Linked DNA regions of Homo sapiens: regions 1, 2 and 3 are each linked to region 4. The links are contacts of gene promoters, found by promoter capture Hi-C in blood cells and fetal thymus (Javierre and others, 2016). All regions are on one chromosome and are shown on one strand. Each heading gives the region's core, a stretch centred on a gene start or on the middle of the fragment in contact. The rest is flanking DNA. Distances are from core to core; before and after follow the strand shown.

What was found. Contacts are between HindIII fragments. The CHiCAGO score rates a contact against its expected background, and 5 or more counts as called.
Region 1: the fragment with the promoter of NDUFA5 here is called in contact with the fragment with the promoter of STMP1 in region 4 in 2 of 17 cell types (total CD4 T cells and total B cells); the score reaches 8.2 in total CD4 T cells.
Region 2: a fragment that was not itself captured here is called in contact with the fragment with the promoter of STMP1 in region 4 in 1 of 17 cell types (M0 macrophages); the score reaches 5.1 in M0 macrophages.
Region 3: a contact is called between the fragment with the promoter of IQUB here and the fragment with the promoter of STMP1 in region 4, in 4 of 17 cell types (fetal thymus, non-activated CD4 T cells, naive CD8 T cells and 1 more). The highest score is 13.8, in fetal thymus.

Annotation. Positions count from the first base shown.
Region 1 is chr7:123,556,467-123,559,719 of GRCh38, forward strand. It overlaps NDUFA5 (NADH:ubiquinone oxidoreductase subunit A5), which reads right to left and starts at 1,352. Exons shown (of 5, transcript NM_005000.5): 1 at 1,309-1,352; 2 at 938-982. The coding sequence starts at 1,329. RefSeq lists enhancers at 482-1,060, 625-1,824, 1,061-1,639, 1,380-1,429, 1,690-1,829. The HindIII fragment of the contact is 10,047 bases long and covers 1-2,350 here.
Region 2 is chr7:120,994,495-120,997,449 of GRCh38, forward strand. The region is part of intron 2 of CPED1 (cadherin like and PC-esterase domain containing 1); the gene reads left to right. Among named protein-coding and RNA genes, the nearest start is that of CPED1, 7.3 kb to the left of the region's middle. The HindIII fragment of the contact is 1,808 bases long and covers 588-2,395 here.
Region 3 is chr7:123,533,261-123,536,618 of GRCh38, forward strand. IQUB (IQ motif and ubiquitin domain containing) reads right to left here and starts at 1,335. Exons shown (of 13, transcript NM_178827.5): 1 at 1,232-1,335. It overlaps LOC124901740 (a long non-coding RNA gene), which reads left to right and starts at 1,271. Exons shown (of 2, transcript XR_007060507.1): 1 at 1,271-2,165; 2 at 2,345-2,999. RefSeq lists silencers at 1,402-1,631, 1,652-1,801, 1,882-2,011 and an enhancer at 2,082-2,221. The HindIII fragment of the contact is 3,094 bases long and covers 698-3,358 here.
Region 4 is chr7:135,660,953-135,664,049 of GRCh38, forward strand. STMP1 (short transmembrane mitochondrial protein 1) reads left to right here and starts at 1,562. Exons shown (of 3, transcript NM_001130929.2): 1 at 1,562-1,642. The coding sequence starts at 1,628. RefSeq lists a silencer at 1,437-1,656 and enhancers at 2,296-2,820, 2,821-3,097. The HindIII fragment of the contact is 1,162 bases long and covers 787-1,948 here.

The sequences.
Region 1 (3,253 bases), core at 102-2,601, about 12 Mb before region 4:
TAACTCAAATTTTAAAAGTGGGCATAAGAGAAATAACCAGAAAAAGAGAAAGCCAAAGAGTAGGGGGAAAAAATCAGGAGACTGGGGGAGTCCTGAAGCCCAGTAAAGAAAGCGCATGATGGAAAAAGTGTCAAATGTGTCAAAAAAAAAAAAACGCTGCTATTAGGTCAATGAAGGTGAGAAACATAAGCTGACCATTGGATTTGGCAACATGGAGATAACTGGTGAACTTGAAAAGAGCGTGATGGAAAAAGTGTCAAATGTGTCAAAAAACGCTGCTATTAGGTCAATGAAGGTGAGAAATATGAGCTGACCATTGGATTTGGCAGCATGGAGATAATTGGTGAACTTGAAAAACGCCAAGGGTGACTGAGTGCATTCAAGGGTGAATAAGAAAGAAATTGGAGAAAATAGAGATAACTCTTTTGAGTTATCTGTAAAGTGAAGCAAAGAAATGGTGTGATTATAGAAGGGACAAGAAGAATAAAAAAATTTTGTGGGTTTTTTTGATGAAAACATTCGTGAATACAGATGGAAAAGACCTAACAGAAGGAAAAGGGGGCAGTACCTTTAGTAAGCCTAAATATATGTAATCCAACGCACCTAAGCAGAAACGGTAAGGCAAGGAGAAAAGATGGAAAACGGAGATATAAATTTGAGATGGCGCTGACAGAAGCAAGCACAAGTGAAGCCATGAAAATGTCAAGGAAAAAGTCAACAAGAAAACTGGCTTAATAAAGAGGTCATGGCAAAAATAAATAAAAATGTGACATCGGATCAACGAAGTAGGTGGACAGCGCCCGTGTCTCAAGAGCTCACGCGGCTTGTAATTAAGGGCTTGAAACATCTGTATCCCGTTAACCCTGCAATAAGCAAAGTGACAGGAATTTAGTCTTCCTTGGGAATTCAAGAACGAAGAAAGAACAAAGGTACATACCTCGTGAGGAGTATTGCACACAGCCAATCCCACAAGGCCAGTGGTCTGTTCAAAAACAAAACACGATTCATGCTGTTTACTACGGTTTCCATACATCCAGCACGCTAAGGAAATACAAAACCACGAATCCCCCGGCTAAAACTGGTCTAAAGCCAGCTACTGGTCTCTCAGTCTCGCTTGTTTGGAGCTTTTTTCCTGACTCTCGGAGCGGAACCACTAACCTGCCCTACCCGGTAAGGCATGCAGAACGAGTCCCCGAAAAGCACCGCCGAGCCCGCGACAGTAGGGGTCAACACCCGCGGGAAGTAGGGCTATCGGACTGAGTCTACCCCCACAGTCTAAATTCCAACAGTGACCTCCATTCGTCTCACCTTCTTCAGCACACCCGCCATGACAGCGCCAACGACTCGGTGACGCACAACCCTTTGGGAACAATTCTCAGACCTGCTCAATCGACCACCGAGGTCGCCACTCTGTCACCCTGGAAACAGCTTAGCTCCACCCCTTCAGGATCGCCAAAGGAGCAAAGACTCTGCCCCGCCCATCTTAAAAGAGAAAAATTGACGCATGCGCGATGGGCATACAAGCCTAAAGCTAAGCTAGAAGACGATTGGGGAAAGAAAGGGTTTCCCAGCTGTCTGTTCCTGTTCCTGCCACTGCTGACGGCTTGCCCAAAGATTGAGGGAAACACTCCCAACTACCAAAAAACTCCAGTCGCTGTAGGAACCTGCACTGTGCTTAACCGTTGATGCATTCCTCAACCTTCCTTTCTCAGTTTAGTAAAATGAAAGTGATAACGGAGCTTGAGCATCCTCTGAATTGATCTCTCAACAGCAAGTTAGTTCTTCGCACAAGGATATCAGTATTCTCTGTGTCTTACGAACCAAAGCCCTATGGAGTGTGAGGTCATTTTCCATCGCTCTTTTCGATTTCACTGGCTGAAATACATCATCTTATTTCCAGATGAAATGATATCAGACCATACCACTTTTTCCTACCTCCACAAACACTGACCACTCACTATGTGTCAGTTACTGGGACATAATTTCTAAAATGGGATTTCACATCCTGGAATTCAAAGAATAATGAAGAAGGCGTGTATTAATAAATAATTTGGTAACTGTTCTAAAAGAAGTTGATGCAAAGTGTGATGGTACCAGGGAAAAGGAAATAACTAAAAAGCGTGGGTGACTTTCTAAAAAGTCAGTAGGAGAAAAGAACAAATTGAGAAAACACAAGTACAAAGGAAAAGAGGTTAAAAATGTATATATAAATTCCAGGTGATTTTATGTGATTGGAAAGGTGGGTTTGATTGTTAAGGTAAACTGGTTAAGATTATGAAAGGTGTTGTTTGCCATTATACAAAATTTGAATTTTACTTTTTAAGGAATGGGAACAATGAGAAGACTTTTAAGCTTCTAAGTGACACCATCAAATTTATGTTTCAGATATACAAACAACTTAGGCAACAGTTGAAGAGAATGAGTTGGAAGAGATGAGGCCTTTCATTAGAGGCATGAGACTAGAAAAAATGAAAGCTAAACCAAAAGCAAACAGAAGAAAGGAAATATTAAAGATTAGAAAAGAAGGAGACAGAATATCAATAAAGAAAATCAATGAAACCAGGAATTGGTTCCCTAAAAGGATCAACAAAATTGGCAAACCTTTAGTGAAACTAAGAAAAAAAAGAGAGAAGATTTAATACAAGCAAGAATAAAAGAACCATCACTAATAGCCTTGCTGAAATAAACAGGAATAAGAAGGAATACTATGAACAACTATGCTTAAAAAAGATAAAGTAGATAAAATGGCCAGATTCCTAGAAAAACACAAACTACCTAAATCAACTCAAGAAGGCATAAAGAAAAATCTGACTAGATCTAACATAATTAAAGAAATTGAATTAGCAAGAAAAAAAAAAAAACCTATCCAGAAGGAAAAGCACAGGTCCAGATGGCTTCGCTGGTAAATTCCACTGAACAATTAAAGAATAACACTTAAGAAACTATTCCAAAATATAGAAGAGGAGGAAACAATTAACAACTAATTCTATAAGGCAAGTATTACTCTGATTCCAACCAGACAAAGAAATCAACAAGAAACAAAAACTTCAGCCAGGTGTGGACTCTGATTCCAACCAGACAAAGAAATCAACAAGAAAAGAAAACTTCGGCTGGGCCTGGTGGCTCATGCCTGTAATCCCAGCACTTTGGGAAGCTGAGGCAGGAGGATCACCTGAGGTCAAGGGTTTGAGACAGCCTGGCCAACATGACAAAACCTTCTCTCTACTAAAAATACAAAAATTAGCCAGGCCTT
Region 2 (2,955 bases), core at 242-2,741, about 15 Mb before region 4:
ATGTTGAGAAGGAACTAGAGAGGGTAGAGAAAGAAAAAAGTATTACATGCAGATTAGCCTGCATATGCAAATAAGAAATGAAATAGCTGGATAGCCTGATACATTTGGAGAATTCAAAGTATTTGTTATACTGTGTGTGTGTGTGTGTGTGTGTGTGTGTGTGTGTTGTTGTTGTTGTTACTGATGGAAGCAGGAAGGCAAATACACAAAGTAGAAAAGTCAGCAGGGTCTAGATGTTGGAAATGTGCACATGATAAGGAGTCTGGATTCTATTCCAAAGGCAACAGAGAATCCCTGAAGAATGCTAAGCAAAGACTGGCATAAATACATAAGTGTATTAGAGAGAAAGTGAGAAAACACACATTGCAGAATGGACTGGAGTAGAATTGAAGGCAGGAAGACCAGTTGGTAGGCTGTTTCAAAATGCCTCTTCTTCGCCAAATCTTACTTTCCATGTGTGTTCTTGAACACCCCCTTTTCAACCTTTTTCAAAATTGGCTCCACAGTTACCCTCTATTACTTATAATATTGCCAATTCCAAATCTTTCCTCCTGCCAGCGAACATGTGTAGAACTAATAAAACAATAAGCTTTCTTTGTACCTGGCAATCTACCTAATATGATATGCTCCCTGTCTCTCTACTTCCCTTCAGAGAAACTGTAACTGGTTCTCTTTGCATGTACTTCCTTGTTACCTCTCCCGATTCCTTATCCTTTGCATTTGGTCATTTCTATTGAAACCTCTCTTGGTGAACCCCTTATTACCAAATCTAATGAGATCTATTTTCAGTCTACATCCTTCTTCTCTGAGGCATGTTCTGCTATTGGGAAGTGACTCTTTCTTGAAATTTCCTTTTCGAATTCCACAACACAACAAGGTTATTCTGAAAAACTTGTGGTCTCTTTTCGAGTTCATTTCCTCTCTCTGATGACACAGGTAGACATTTCCAACCTTAGGTCCTTGGATCTTTGCCTTGTTTTATACTTTTCCTTGATGAATGTATCAGTTTTGCCTATTGTTAATTTTCACCCTTGGCAGATGACATATCACCTACCTCTTCAAATTCCTGCTACCTTTTTCTAGAATATTATAAAATACTACAAAAATTTAAATAATTTATTTCACAAACCTCATGCCCAAATCAATGACTCCTCTTAACCTCCCTATTTCCATGAATAGGACCTGTCACCCAACCACCATTTTCCTAGATGCATAGTTTTTACACCTTTGATATTTCTTGCTTCTTCCCTGTACCTTGCTCCTCACCAAATCCATCTGGCCTGGCTCCTTACCAAATCTGAGGTCTGCCACTGAGCGACATGGCGAGCTCCAAATTAGAAAGACCACAACATTCTTCAGTTTTTTTTATTCTTCTTCCTCTTCTTCTTCTTCTTCTTCTTCTTCCTCTTCTTCTTCTTCTCCTTCTCCTCCTCCTTCTCCTCCTCCTTCTTCTCCTCCTCCTCCTCCTCCTCCTCCTTCTTCTTCTTCTTCTTCTTCAATAACTCTGGGAGTGGTGGCTCACATCTGTAATCCTAGCACTTTGGGAGGCTGAAGCAGGAGGATCACTTAAGTCCAGGAGTTCAAGACCAGCCTAGGCAAAATAGGGAGAGCCTATCTCCACAAAAAGTTAAAAAAAAATTAGCTGGGATTGATGGCATGTGCCTGGAGCCCCCCAGCTACTCGAGAGGCCAAGGTGGGAGGATTGCTTGAGCCAGGGATGTCAAGGCTGCAGTGACCTGTGATCATGCCTCTGCACTCCAGCCTAGGTGACAGAGCAAGCTCCTGTCTCAAAAAAAAAAGAAAAGGGAATTATCCTTAGAAATTTTTAATAGAGGTAAAAAAACCCCACATATTATAAAATTTAACCTCTTAACCATTTGTGAGTATACAGTTAAGTAGTATTAATCATATTTACATTGTTGTGCAAAGTCCAAAATATTCTTGCCTTGTTCACAGCCCTTATTCAGAAACATTAGTCTCAACCAGCTTGCATGTTGCTTCCTCTTCTCCTTGGCATCTGGCCCAGATCTGGATTTCCTCCTTGTGGTTTATATATTGCCTGTAGACATGGTGCTCCTTTTTTAGCTCTAACTTCTAATTTCTCTCTGGGACCATGCTGTGCATTTAGCCCTTTATTATACTATTATAATTTTAGTAAATATCACATGAGCACAGCCCTTATGGCTATGTAAAGTGGAATTTTCTCTAGTCCTCCAAATTAATTCAGATAAGAGTTCATCAGATTCCAAAATCTTAGCATCTATCTTCACAATCTCAATGCTGTGTCCTTGTTGTCACTAACCTAGACTCATTCAGTGGTTTAACCAGTTACCCCTCCATCTGCCTGCATATTCTAGGCAGTCTGTGCACAGGTCCCATTAATACCTCTGCTGAAAGCTTTCAGGAGTTGTAACGTTGAGCGCACTCAATTGAGTAGAAACCACACTGATCCTGGCATGTTCCAACATACTTTTCCAGCCTTATCTCTACCCTGTCTCTATGTGTAATCCATAATCCATAATCCACCCAACAGCCTGCCTATTTTCTAAACTCCCACATCTCTCCTTCTGTCAGGAGTCTCCTCCAGGGAGCCTGCTCTACTCAATACCTCTAGAAATCTTCATGATCATTCTTAAAGCTTTTGAGAACCTATGGAGTTTCACTTCCTTCATTATAGCAGCCCTTATCTCCATAAGTGGATGTGTGCTTAAACATCCCTAATAAAACTTATGTTTCATTGTAACTATTTATAAATGAAGGAACATTAGAATGTTAGAACTGCAAATAAGTTAGAGATGATTAAGTTCAACATCTTTCTTTTTTAAGTGAAGAGAAAGAAGGTCACAGAAAGAAAGTGGCTCTCTCAAAGTAACATAACAAGTTGATAGTGTGGACAGGACTGGACTGAGACCTATGTCCTTTCTATTTTATTATAGCCCCATATGCTAACTCCAT
Region 3 (3,358 bases), core at 85-2,584, about 12 Mb before region 4:
AGTATACTGAAAATGAGTTCCCAGAATTAGAATGGACAAGTCAAAGGGCATACAGATCTTAATTTTGTTAAATTCCATCAAACTGTTTTCTATTATAGCCCCAAGAAGTTCCCCTTGACTGTTTCCTTACATCCTCATATTGTTTTATGAGTCCTAATAATTAAATATCCCTTTGTTGTGTGTTGCCCTTATATTTCCCATTGTATGTTTGATGTTGTTTTTCTCTTACTATATAAAAGTTTTAGATTGTTAGGTAGTGACATTTATCAATCTTTTTGCTTATGAGAGTTTCCAAATTTCCTGACATGCTTCGAAACACCTTCTCACAATGAAACATAAATACATAAATTCATCCATAAATGCATAAATGAGACAGATCTGTAAATATTGATAGAAAACAACTGGACACACAGTCTTAAGTGTAAAAGCCAATCACAGAAGAGTATGCACAATGTTACAGGTGTAACTACATATTTGCGTATGTCTAAAACACCTGTGGAAGGTGGCCTGGAGATGGGGAGAAATGGGTAGATGGAGGATTTTCACTCTTCATTCTTTTTACTATTCGAACTATTTTTTTATGTATTATCTATTCAAATGAAAATGTTTAAATCTTATTGTTTAAAAAGCAACCTCTATCATGTTTGCATACAAAAAAGTCTCCCTTTTCACCTACATTTCATTCCCTACCATTTAAAGCTTAACACATTTAGAATGTAGTATAATTAGTGAGGCAGGGATCCAGTATTGCCTTCTACCAAATAGATCTGTTGAATTTTTAGGTTTGTTAAGAGGCAAAGACCAAGGGTGGAGAGGAAGGAGTGAGAGTGCCAGGTGAGGAAAGTCTAAAATCTCTCGACTTAATATGAGAATGGTGGCCACGGAAGGCTAAGAGTCTCTAGTGCCAGGTGTGGGTTATACACACATCTTCTATGCAATTACCGTGACAAGCACCCAGGGTGTGAGGTGAGGTGTACCTCCTAGCTTGATGCTGCTGGTTCAAGTCCCAAATCAGAGAGGGGAAGCCAAAAAAGGAGCCGAGAAAGATGAGATGCTTCGCACGGTTTTTAAAGTAAAGTCGGAACATTCCTGACCGACTAGGCAGCCCCAGGCGCTCAGGTGGGAATCACTGCCCAGCACACAGAACCCAGAGTCCAGCGCGGCTGTCACCGGCTCTAGGCTGGATCTAAGCGTCGGACCAGGAGGCCGCAGTCAAAATCTGTTCTCCTACCTGTGTACGAAACCAAACTATTCTCGTCGAAGTGCTTTCCCAGGCTCCTAAGACGCAGCTTCCATACTCGCCGCGTTCTCAGCTGTTGGTCGTATCCTAGCAACGGCCCTGGCACCACCTCTTCCTGCCGGAGCACGGCAGGGGTGGGAAGGAGAGGAGCCAGAGGCGGGTGGGGGGGAGGAGCCAGAAGAGGGCAGCGGGGAGGGGCCGGGAAGGAGGAGCGCGGCAGGGTAGGGGGAGGAGCCAAAGACTGGGGGCGGGGCCGGGAAGGAGGAGGGCGGCAGAAGAGAAGGGGATGAGCCAGAGGCGGGGAGGTGGGGCCGGGAAGGAGGAGTGCGGCAGGAGAGAAGAGGAGTAGCCAGAGGCGGAGGGGCGGTGTCGGGAAGGAGGAGCGCGGCAGGAAATAAGGGAAGGAGCTAGAGGCGGGCTGGGGGCCGGGGTCTGGAAGGAGGATCGCGGTAGGGAAGAAGAGGAGCCAGAGGAGGGGGATGGGGGCTGCAAAGGAGGAACGCGATAGGGAAAAGGGGGAGGAGCCAGAGGCGAGGGGGCGGGGAGAAGAAACATGGCAGGAGAAAGGGGAGGAGCCAGAGGCGAAGAGACAGGAAGAGGGACGCGTCAGGGAGAAGGGGAGGAGTCAGAGGCGAGCGGGCGTGGAGGAGGGAAGCGGCAGGGAGAAGGGGCGGGGCCAGAGGCGAAGGGGCGGGGAGGAGGGACGCGGCAGGGAGAAGGGGAGGAGCCAGAGGCGGAGGCTGTTACCAACTGGCTACCTAGATCCAAGTGAATCAGGACACTAACTTCTCTCCAAGATCTTTTACACTTGTGAAACGGCACAGCTCTCTAAACCAAACACTGACAGCAGTTTAATTTTACAGATATAAAAAAAATCCGAGTCAGAGAAATCATCACGATGAAGTCAGAGGCGAGAAACTGTCAGGTGCCTACTTGCTTTTGTTAAACTAACAACTTGGCTCTCAGCTTCCTGGCAGCCAAAGAGAAAAGGGAGATAGTAGCTATCAAATAATTCTGCTTAGAAGAACTTTTGTTAATCACTAAATTAGTTAATAAACTAAATTTTGTCTAACAACAAATTCTTTTTTTTTTTTTTTTTTCTAGTGTATACAGAGTCTTGCTCTGTCGCCCAGGTTGAAGTGCAGTGGTTCGATCTCGGCTCAATGCAACCTCTACCTCCCTGGCTCCCGCGATTCTCCTGCCTCAGCCTCCTGAGTAGCTGAGATTACAGGCGCCCGCCACCACCCCCGGCTAATTTTGGTATTTTTAGTAGAGATGGGGTTTCACCATGTTGGCCAGGCTGATCTGGAACTCCTAGCCTCAAGCAATCCGCCTTCAAAAGTGTTGGGGATTACAGGAGTGAGCCACCGCGCCCGGCCTATCAATGAATAAGAAAACTTTTAAAGAACCACAGGATAGTATTGGAGGTCAAGTCAAGTATGTTCCTCTTGGAAATTTAGTAACAAACTACATGTTGCTATCTCATAATAGCAGCTAACATTTATGAAGTATTCATTGTCATGAGGCACCGTACATAGATTTCTAATTTAATCCTTACAACGATTTTATTAGGGAGAAACTGCTATTAGACCCATTTTGTAAATGAGAAAACTAAGGCACACAAAGTTTAATGAGGGAACCAGGATTAAACCTAAGCAATCTAACTCCAGGTCCCAGATTTTTTAACCATTACAGTACTGTTTAATTTGATTTGATATGTTAAAAGGATTAATAAAATTAATACAGGTCCATTCCCTTATTCATAAATGTTCATTGTCTTCATTTATTTCTTTATACTGTTCTGCTGAAATTGCACTCTCATCTCCCCAATAACTTTGTAATATCCAATGCCATTTTTTTCAGTCATCCCATTTTAAAATATATTTTTACTAGAATAGTGAAATATATATTCAGATAAAATTGGCTTTGTTTTAATAATGATCAGTAAAAGTAAATTCATTTTAATCATTTCCACACATTCATGAAAAGTAAAGGGGAAAAATGGGCATAGAGGTAACCACTAGAATTAGGCTTTCTTGGATGGGTAGACCAGGTGTGGAGGTGTGCAGATAAGATTTTACAAACACTCATACACTCCCATCTCCAAAATCATAATTT
Region 4 (3,097 bases), core at 312-2,811:
AAAAAAAAAAAGTTTGTAAAATTCGTACCTAATAATTTAGGACAGTCATGTCTGCTTACAGGTGTTATTTGTCTGTTAAAACTAGTCTGCAGATTGTTTCATGAATGCTTTGTCAAATTATGAAAATTAAAGTGCAATAATTTTTGAAGACAATAAGGGATGGTGTATCTTGTTTCTAATAAGATGAACTTTTTTTGTCTTTGCTTTATCTTATTAGGGAGTTATATATCTTATTAGGGAGTTAGTGTTTAAAACATACTGTGTGGTATAATAGGCTTAAAATAAATTCTTTAAAAGAGAAAGAGAGAAAAAAACACACACATACACAGACCGGAAGACTGACAGAACAGACTCTTTGTGGCGATGATACAAATTGTCAACAGGACCTATGGCCATCCCAGGCAAGAAACCCAGCTAGGCCAGTGAAACTGAGAGCCAACCTGATGAGGCCTGCCAAATGCAACTTCTCTCACTTGTTTTTAGTCACCTGCTTTTAGTGGATTAAAAAACCCACATAGCTAAAGTCACAGAGCTAAACAATATATATCTAAGCTCCCACTATCTTCCTTATGGATAACATCTCTGACATCTGGGTTGCTTGATAAAGGTTTCTTGTTTTTCAGGAAGTTGGGGTCAGTTCTTGTACAGTTTAAACCACCAACCTCTCAACTGGGCCTGCATGAAAGCCCGATGGGTGTCCTTCTGACATTAGAGGGCCAAAACCTCCACACTCAGATCATGCTAAGGATGTCATTTTGTGACCATGTATCCTATAAAGAGCCATGAAGCTTGACTACCTCGCGCAGATAACCCATTGCCAAACTTTTCCTTACCTTCAACCGCCTTTCCCCACACCTCAGACCACCCTGCTCCTCTATCCCATAAATATCCCTAAAACCCATCTTTGGGGAGGCAGATTTGAGATCTGTTCTCCCGTCTCCTCGGCTGGCTGCCTGGTGAATAAACCTTTTCTCTGCTACAAAACTCATCATCTCAGTGACTGGCGTGCGGCACACGGCAGCATGGGCCCCATACGGTACCCAGCCTCTACCTTGATTACACAACACCTGATTACACAACGCTGATTACACAGCACACCTGCGGAGCTTTGAGAGCTACAAGCCTCCTTTCCTCCCCGCAAAGTCCAGCTGGGCCCAAGTAGAGGATGCTGCAAAAGCCCCCACGATTCAGCTGCGAACCTAGGGATGGGACCCGCTGCTCATGCCGTCCTTCTAGGTTAGAGAGCCCTAAACTGGGCTGTGTATCAGAATAGTCCGCGTGCTGAGAATAATATAGATTCCTGGGCCTCGGCCCAGGTTTACAGAGGCGGGATGCTCAAGGATGCCCAGCCAGGCTCGGGACTTGCTCTTCGCAAGTCCTGTCGCGCGCTCGCTGCCCCGCCGGTTCAGGCGGTGAGGCCAACGCGCTCCGCCAGGGGGAACCTGGGCGCTGCGACACTGCAAGTCGTTTCCGGGCGCGGGCTGAGTGGGAGGAGCGGGGCGGGGCGTGGCGTGACCCGGAAGTCGACGAGGGGTTCCGCCCCCCCCGCGCATGGGGAGGTAGGCTCGGACCGGCCCGCGGAGCTGCTGCAGTCCTTCGCGCCCTCCTCGCCCTCCCCACCGACATCATGCTCCAGTTCCTGGTGAGTGGAGCTGCCGAAGAGCGGGGCCCGCTGCCTGGGGCGTGCCTCGGACCCCATTTCCCCCTTGAGGATTGCCGACCCCGCCGACCCGGCCTGGGCGTGGGTCCAGCGGTCCCTTCGTCCCCCGCGCCTGGTCGTCGCCTCGCAGGGCGGCCGTTTTCTTCCTGCCTCCCCAGAAAATCCCTTTGCCAATATTTTTCTGCAGCCATCCAAGTCCCTAAAACTTTGAGGTGTCAGAGAGTGTGCGTTTCCAGAGCTTCTTATTGTGTGCCGCGCCCCGCGCTCATTGTGCAATCTTTGTATTAAAGCTTGTGTGGTCCTTGATGACTTTTCGTAGTCCGCCCCCCTTTCTTTCTGCGCTCCTGTTCCATTACATGGTCGCCGGCCGGTCCCTGCTGTGGAGCCCTGCTAGTTGGCTTTTCTGAGGAGGTAGGAAGGCCAGGAATAAACCGTAAATTAGCCACCTCACGAAGTCCGAGAGGCTAAGTCCTCATCAGACCTTTCAGAGTTGGAGGAATGAGTCAGACACTGGTATACAAGTAATTTTTCCCAAAATGTGTAAGCATGAGTAAGCAGACTATTTCTCTTGGCTCCTTATTTGAGTTAAAAACGAGTTTTCTGGCAAAACTCGGTATATTTCAAAAATTGCTTGGTGAAGGTTCCAGGAGTTGCTCATCAAATTTTCAAGTGAAAGTTTTTCTGCCAAGCTATTGTGCATTCAAAACTTGATGCTTTCAACCTCTATTTTTTTTTATTTTTTATTTTTTTTGAGACGGAGTCTCGCTGTGTCGTCAGGCTGGAGTGCAGTGGCGCAATCTGGGCTCACTGGAACCTCCGCCTCCCGGGTTCAACCGATTCTCCCTCCTCGGCCTCCGGAGTAGCTGGGATTACAGGCGCGCACCAGGATGCTCAGCTAATTTTTGTATTTTTAGTAGAGACGGGTTTCACCAAGTTGGCCAGGCTGGTCTCGAACTCCTGACCTCAAGTGATCAACCCACCTCAGCCTACGAAAGTGCTGGGATTACAGGCGTGAGCCACTGCTCCCGGCTCAAATGCTGTATCTTTTTTTGTTGTTTGTTTTAACGGAGTCCCGCTCTGTCGCCAGGCTGGAGTGCAGTAGTGCGATCTCGGCTCACTGCAGCCTCCGCTTCCTGGGTTTAAGCGATTCTCCTGCCTCAGCCTCCCGAGTAGCTGGTGCGCGCCAGCAGGCCCAGTTAATTTTTGTATTTTTAGTAGAGACGGGGTTTCACCCCGTTGGCCGGGATGGTCTCGATCTCCTGACCTCGGGATCTGCCTGCCTCAGCCTCCCAAAGTGCTGGGATTACAGGCGTGAGCCTCCGCGCCCGGCCCCAAATGCTGTATCTTTATCAAAGAGATTAAAACACAAAATGCACCCCTTTTGTCCTTTTGAAAGATGGTAATGGATTGTTAAATCCAATTAGTCAAAAGAGTGTC